2 separate regions of the Homo sapiens genome follow, and region 1 is linked to region 2. The links are contacts of gene promoters, found by promoter capture Hi-C in blood cells and fetal thymus (Javierre and others, 2016). All regions are on one chromosome and are shown on one strand. The core of a region is centred on a gene start or on the middle of the fragment in contact, and the rest is flanking DNA. Distances in the headings are between cores, read along the strand shown. Region 1 has its middle 2.0 kb from the start of WFS1. Region 2 holds the start of BLOC1S4 (biogenesis of lysosomal organelles complex 1 subunit 4).

The links. Contacts are between HindIII fragments. The CHiCAGO score rates a contact against its expected background, and 5 or more counts as called.
Region 1: a contact is called between a fragment that was not itself captured here and the fragment with the promoter of BLOC1S4 in region 2, in 1 of 17 cell types (total B cells). The highest score is 5.7, in total B cells.

What each region holds. Positions count from the first base shown.
Region 1 is chr4:6,266,045-6,269,754 of GRCh38, reverse strand. No RefSeq gene overlaps it. Among named protein-coding and RNA genes, the nearest start is that of WFS1, 2.0 kb to the left of the region's middle. The HindIII fragment of the contact is 2,109 bases long and covers 474-2,582 here.
Region 2 is chr4:6,713,881-6,718,022 of GRCh38, reverse strand. BLOC1S4 (biogenesis of lysosomal organelles complex 1 subunit 4) reads right to left here and starts at 1,849. Exons shown (of 1, transcript NM_018366.3): 1 at 359-1,849. The coding sequence starts at 1,813. The coding sequence ends at 1,160. LOC105378240 (a long non-coding RNA gene) reads right to left here. Exons shown (of 3, transcript XR_001741568.3): 3 at 3,878-3,999. RefSeq lists enhancers at 808-1,447, 1,930-2,129 and a silencer at 1,600-1,649. The HindIII fragment of the contact is 17,705 bases long and covers 1-4,142 here.

The DNA of each region.
Region 1 (3,710 bases), core at 279-2,778, 450 kb after region 2:
TAGCCGCCAATCACTCCACATCTCCGCCAATCACGGTGCGCCTCGCCTAGCTGCGGCCCGGCACTCCCCCTGCGTGGTTGGGCCCGAGGGGCCAGAAGGCGGGTCCGGCTCGCCCACAGCGAAAGTTTCCGAGCGGACTCGGGCCCCGGCCCCGCCCCCGCCCCGCCCGCGGAACGTCCAGTTGCTTAGCGAGGCCGCTCGCCTTCTCCTGTAACAGGTGGTTTGGACCCGTGGAAAAGGCTCCGGCCACCTTTCATCCACCACTCCGGCCTCAGCGTCCCCAACTGCAGATTCATTATATTTGCTGTTGCAATATTAACACACGTCTTGAGCGCCTATTCCGGCGCTGCAAGAGAGTCTAAGGGCTCCCCTAATAACAGCAGCAGAGATGGAAAAATGGGGCCTGTTTGAAACGAGTGTCTGCAGCCAAGTACTGCTTTCAGTGCCCAGAATCAAATGCAGTGTAGCAAGCTTTTCACACGGTGACTGTGGGATTCCTTTAAAGTGTGTGTTAGCCCAGGGAGTGGGCAAGGCTCAGGCAGTTTGGAGACTCTGGGAGTTTGGTTCCTGTCTGGGAGGCGTGGTTTGGAGATGAGGGCGAGGGTCTATCCTTGAGAGGCCCTGGGGAACGTGAGACCCTGCCTGCTCTGTCTCTGGTCCCCACAACCAACCTGAGCTACCTGTCCTAGTTATCACAGCAGAAACTGGGGCTCGGAGTGACTGTCAGAGATAATGCTTACCAACATGTTGGGAGCAAATATTCCAGATGGCTTTGGAGATGAGTTCTGAACACACTACTTCGGAGGACTTTTGTCAAAGCGGCGTAGTTCATGTCAGTCACCTCATTTGATTCTCCAGCTGCCCCCACTGCCCACCCCCGATCCCCAATGTTCACGTGTGACCCTGTGAGGCTCACAGAGGAAGGAAGAACACCTGCCGTCAGCCTCGCCTGCTCTGTCCAGGTTGGCTTAGGGGCTTTCACAGCTTTCAAGGGCCCCCCTAGTGACCCAAGGAGGGAGGTGGCACTGAGCCCATTTTTTATTGATGTGAAAATTGAGGCTCAGACATAGTTATTTGCCCAAAGTCTTGAAGATGTCTTTCCACCTTATCACACACTAACTGTAGAAAATTTGGAGAATTACTAAAAGTAGAAAGGAGAAAAAAAATCACTCAAAGATGATCACTGTTCACATTGTGAGATTTATGCACATTTAAGAAAATAATAAATATTAATGTGAACACACAATCACAGAGAGGCTGAAGCACTTCCCAAACCCTTTGCAGGGGCTCATTAAGCAGAGAGAAGAGGACAGATTGAAAAGTTCCTCCTGTGGAGGTCTAAGGGAAGAGAGGAAGTGCAACAAAAAATCTACAAGATGGCTTAAGGAGCCTCTATCAGAACACAGCAACACTGAACATACTCCACGGAGCTAAGAGACTGAAAAAGCAACAGGCAAATTCAGAAAGAGAAGAGTGGAGGTGAGGACAAATGAGCAAACTGGAAGATAATGTGGAGTAAATGCTTCATGATGTAGAGGAAAAGCACATGAAAATCATCAGGACAAAAAGCAGAGACTGGAAAGACAGTTCCAGGAGGTGTATTGCACAAAGGACAGGTACTCCAGGAAGAGCTGGAGGGGAAACAGAGGTGAGCAAAGTGCCAGGAGAACGTGTCCCTGGAAATCCCAGATGCCAAGGATAAAGAGACGGTCTTGCAGAGTTCCAGAAAGAACAGGTCACATCTAAGGGGAGAAAAGTTGAAGTGGTTCCTAGGGGACTTTGGAGCAATGTCCAGGGACTCTGATGATAGGATCAAGGATCCTTACCATGGCTACTACAGGATTCATCTATGTGGACAAAAGAGAGAAAATATCCACTGTGGCAAGACAGAGAAAGGACCTCAGTGATGTCCCCTTTCAGAGGAAGATATTCAGAGTTCCCCCGTCACCGAGACAGTTCAATCACAGTAGAGATTTCAAGATAGAGCAAACGCTCAGAACAGGAAGTGGTGTTAAGCAATGACCCTTGCAAAATATACAGTATGGATAATCCACATGTGCCTGTGATTTTGTACTAGCAGTGCCACATAAGGATTCTTAAAACATAAGCTACATGCTTCAAGAGAAAGTTGTATTAGCCTGGAACTAAAAAAAAAAATAGAATCTTATCACAGAGAAGTCAGAATATTTTAAGATCACATTTGGTTGAGGGGAGAAGGAGGAAGTAAAAGGATCTGATTTGGTGAGTGGGGAAGGAAAGCCTTATTGGTGGTTGGGAGGGGTGCTTCATTACCATTTACTTTTAATACATTAGCAGGGAAAGATTGGTTTAATTATGACTCTCAGCTGGGGAAGGAAAGCCTTATTGGTGGTGGGGAGGGGGCTTCATTACCATTTACTTTTAATACATTATCAGGGAAAGATTGGTTGAATTATGACTCTCAGGAATTGGAAAGTAGCAACTCACGGGAAAGAAGCAGAGTAGAACTCCTGAATTACTAGGTAGAAGTTGGGGGAGGGGTGGAGGGAGAGTAAGGAAGCAAAATTAAGGGGGAAAGTAAATAATAGCAAGAACAATAAGCTTAATAATAGTAAACATAAGATGAGATAAAATAAATAAAGCCATGGCTACCCGCCTTCGTAACACGGTGAATGGGCTGAATTTCCCATCCAAAGTCTGTAAGATTGGGGCAAAAACTAAAGTCCAGTTAAGCGCTATTTACAAGAAACACACCAAAAATATTGAGAAGTAGAAGATCACAGCAGACATTTGAAAAATGGCAAATTACTATTGATAAGGAAGAACGCATGATGGAAAGCATTCACGGGAAGAGTGGTATTATGTAAGGGTGCCAGGCACAATCCACAAAGATTTCATTGTCATGAATCTGAATGAGCCAGAAAATCTAGTAGCCACACACTTAAAGCAGTAACTGCTAGAAATACTAGAACTTATTAAAACACAACTCTGGTGGGAGAAAGAGCCAGCTGTTCAATGCTATCTTTTCTAGGACACCTGTCCTCATTCCCCCAAGAGCTGAGCTCTGCATGTTGCTGCTGAGTATTGAATGAATGAATGGATGGATGGATGGATGAATCACCTATGCAAGGACTTCATATAAGCTCTTTCTTGCCCATAGGACAGTGTCCAAACTCTTTAACCTGACATCCAAATATACCCCCCACAATTCAGTCCTTTGATGTCTGCCCATGATTTTCAGACTCTGCATTCAAGTTCTTGGCCCACTTCCTTCCCTACACCTATTTAAAACCTACTTCCATTTACTCAACAAACATTTAGTGACTTTTGGCCAGGCGTGGTGGCTCACACCTGTAATCCTAGCCCTTTGGGAGGCCGAGGTGGGTGGATCACTTGAGGTCAGCAGTTCGAGACCAGCCTGGCCAACATGGAGAAACCCCATCTCTACTAAAAATACAAAAAAATTAGCCGGGCGTCATGGCACATGCCTGTAATCCCAGCTACACAGGAGGCTGAGGCAGGAGAATCGCTTGATCCCAGGAACTGGAGGTTGCAGTGAGCAGAGATCATGCCACTGCACTCCAGCCTGGGCGACAGAGTAAAACTCTGTCTCAAAAATAATAAGAATAATAATAAAATAAATAAAAATTAAAAAATATAAACATTTAGTGACATCCTGCCTGTTCCAGGCATTGGACTACATGCCAAGTATTCAAAGAAAATGAGGACAG
Region 2 (4,142 bases), core at 600-3,099:
TAAAAAAAAATACAAAATACAAAAAAAATTAGCCGGGCATGGTGGCAGGCGCCTGTAGTCCCAGCTACTCAGGAGGCTGAGGCAGGAGAATGGCGTGAACGCGGGAGGCGGAGCTTGCAGTGGGCCGAGATTGCGCCACTGCACTCCAGCCTGGGCGACAGAGCATGACTCCGTCTCAAAAAAAAAAAAAAAAAAAAAAAAGAAAAGAAATATACCATGCTCTGAAATAGAAGCTACAGCTTTTCACATTAGCTCTCTAAAGGAGGTATACTCAAGCCCCTTTTCTTTATCCCACTACTAAAAAAGCACATGAGCAGTACGTCTATTTCAAACACACACAAGGAAATACGTAAAGCTCTTTTCAGAAGGAAATCATTTCCAATAAAACTCAAAATTTCTATTAACATTTAAATTATAAACCAAACATTGGCAACCCACATATATATATACACACACACACACATATGTTTGCTATGGACAAATGAAGACTGTGAGGTCATACTTTCAAATACAACTTTGGAATTAGTCACAAAAAATCAACATATATTCTCAGAAATTGTACCATTTCCTTTGGTCTACAATCCACGCTATAGGAGGTTTAATATAATATTAAATAATGTACCATTTACCCTAAAAGTAGGTTCTAGAAAACTGACTATTAGGATTGAATAACAAGGCTTTAATGGCTCAATTTTCTTATGATTATACAAACATATAAATCTTGAAAAGGTAACGCCATTTAGTAAAATCCATAAAAATAACAGTTTTGCCACAGTGCAGAGAAAAGTTCATTCAGTTTGATTCCCCATGCCCTCGACAAGCAGCTTTCTGATTAGAGCTGGAAGACACAGGCTGGGTGCAGTGGCGACCCCGTAGTCCCAGCTACTGGGGAGGCTGAGGTGGAAGGATCACTTGAGCCCAGGAGTTTCCGAACAGTCTGGGCAACATACCAAGACCCTGTCTCTTTTTTTAAACTTGGAAGACATAAAGTCTATACATTCTACACTGAATCATGAATATACTACGGAGAGTTTGTAGAAAGTAAACTTTAAAATCCCACACTCCAACATCATATATGTCCATAAGCAGGATTTGCAATTCACTTCATACTGGAGGTAAGCACCCCAGCTGGGGTCCTCTTGCCGCAGTGGTCAGGCCGTCAGAGCTGAGGCCTTTCACTGCAACAAGGGAAGTAGTCTTCGGTCCGAAACAGGACGGGGGCTTCGTAGCCGGCTTGCTGTGGCCTCGAGGGAGCAGACTTGCTAAAGAGCGAGGGCACGTTCATCGTGTGCAGGAGCTTCTTGAACGCCCTGGGGAAGGTGCCCAGCTCGGCCTCGGCCTTGGTGACCTGCTCCTCCATCCTGGCCACGCGGCCCCCCACCATCCTCACGAAGGCCTCCAGCCGGTCGATCCTGCTGTAGATGCGCCGCATCTCGGCGGCCTTCGCGTGGATGCGCGGCACGCCCTCGCTGACGACGTGGGACGAGTCGCCGCGAAGCATGTCCAGCATGCCCACGAACTCGTCCACTCTGGTAAGCAGGTCCTCTAGGCTCGCGTCCAGGGCCTCGACCTCGGGCCGCGCCCCGGCCCCGGGCAGCAGGCAGGCGGCGTAGCCCGCAGCGGCGCGGCGAAGCAGCGGCAGGTCGCGGCCCGGCGCGCCGTCCTCCGCGCCCTCGTCCTCCCACGGCCCCGAGGCGCTGCTGTGGCTCTGGGAAACAGTGCCACTGTCCCCGCTCCAGGCGGCGCCCTGCGGCTCGGCCTCTTCCGCGAGCCCCTCCGGCAGCGCTCCGCCATCCGAAAAGCTACCCTCCATGGCCCGCGACCACCCGACTGCGCAGCGCTCGCTTCCGGCCTCCGCGCGCTCACGCTCACGCACCCGCACACGCACGCACGCGCGCTCACGCCTTTGCTTCCGGCGGCCTGCGAGGGCGTCTGTTCACGCGCATCCACCTTTGTTTCCGGCCTCCCAGCGCGCTCACGCTCACGCATGCGCGCTCACGCTCACGCATGCGCGCTGCTGTTTTCTCACGCCCGAACTCACATTCAACCTTTTTTTTCTTTTTTAAGCGAAGGTATAGCAGGAATACAATACAGTGCATACATTTTAAGTGTGCACATTGATGACTTTGTACACATCCATACAACCATGCATCTTCTATCCAGACCAACAGGTAGGACATGTCCAGCACCCATGAACGTCTCCCTCCTGTCCTTCATTTCTTTTTGCTGTTTATAGTAAAATAAATGAGATAAGCAAGACGAAACACAAAAGGGATGGACCTTGACGACTTTGGATGATTTTTAAAGTCCTCAGCTTCGCCTGATTGCAAATGGCGTAAAACTAAGAAATAGTAATAGTTTCCAAGCAAATATCAAATCCAGGGTACTGCCAGAAAAAAACAAAGGTGAAGTTGAGATGTGACGGTTAAATCCTTTAAAATCTCAAAAAAAAAAGCAAAGACGGTGCCTGAGAATACCATTCAGTTAGACTAACAGCTCCTTAAAGAGATTAATGGTGTGGCTCACAGAGTCCATCAGTCAAACCACAAGGCCTCCAGAAGGCTTAAGGCTTGTTCGTCAGTATTAGCAGAAGCCCAAGATAGAGATGGACTTATCTCAAAGGGATTTGTAGGTAGCACTTTTGTTTAACGGAGTGAACCCCGATGAGATTCACAGGAGACCTATAAAGTTTTTTAAAGATAATTATATTGACACAAACATTGCAGATTGGACTGAAAGGAACAGGCCTTTGGATCCCCTCTCCCCAAACTTGTACAAGCAGGAATCAGACTGAGAAAAAGACTCATTGGCAAACACATGCCACATTTCACAAAAAAGGAAGTATAACTCAGGGCATGAAACCAGGAGCCCAGATGGTGGAACTGGGAGTCATGGAGTCCTAGACCTTGAGACTGGATGGCAGAGTTACTGTGGGCTGGCAACTTGTTTGTACTTCCAATTTCCCCCTTTTTGAACAGGAGTGGCAGTGGCTAATCTAGTCGTAGTGGAGCAGAACAGGTCTGTAGTGATTATCCTGTGCCAGCCCCACAACTGTATATTCCAGGCATGGGGGCAGAGAACTTGTCTCCTTAGTTTCAAAAGTCTACAGATCAAGAAGAATTGTACTCTAGGAGCTGAATTTAAGGAACTAAGCTCAGAAAGCCTCATCTACATCTGATCTTATTGAGAAGACAAAATTCTGGACTTAAAGCTGATGTGACAATAGGATAGTAATACCTAAAACTACATGAGATTTAAAAAAATGTAACTTTTGGGGACCTTGGATAGAGGGGAGTGTGGTTAGCACGTTAAAATGGCATGAAGAATTGGTAGTCAGGGGGCAAACTGTGATTGCTAGCCAGCCTTCAAGATGACTCCCAGTGATTTCTTACTCCTGGTATTCTCACTCTTGTGTATTCCCTCTTGTCGAGTATGTACTGGACTTAGTGACTTCATTTGCTCATAATAAACTGAAAAACACAGAAGTGATGATGTATGATTTGGACATTAGTTCATGAAAGGTAGTGTGGCATCTCTTTCCTTCCAACCTGCGAAAGGAAGATAAATCTTGGGGTCCTACAATTACTAAGCTAAAAGAAAAGTCAAGTTGGAAACTGCTTAGGGCAAACCTGCCTCACATTCTATTCACAGTCACTTCTCCGCTCACTGAGATAAATGCGTATCTGATTGCCACCTTTGGAGAGGCTAATCAGAGACTCAAAATGTCTGGGCGCGGTGGCTTACGCCTGTAATCCCAGCACTTTGGGAGGCTGAGGTGGGTGGATCATTTGAGATCACGAGTACAAGACCAGCCTGGCCAACATGGTGAAACCCTCTTTTAAAAATACAAAAATTAGCCGGTTGTGGTCGTACACACCTGTAATCCCAGCTACTTGGGAGACTGAGGCAGAAGAATTGCTTGGACCTGGGAGGCGCAGGTTGCAGTGAGCCGAGATCACGCCACTGCTCTCCAGCCTGGGCGACAGGGTGAGACTCCATCTCAAAATAAATAAATAAATAAATAAATAAAATTTTAAAAGAAAGAAAGAAAAAAAGAAACTCAATAGAATGCAACCATTTTTCTCTCATCTACCCAAGACCTGGAAGCCCCCTCCCCGCTTCAAGTTGTCCTGCCTTTGCTT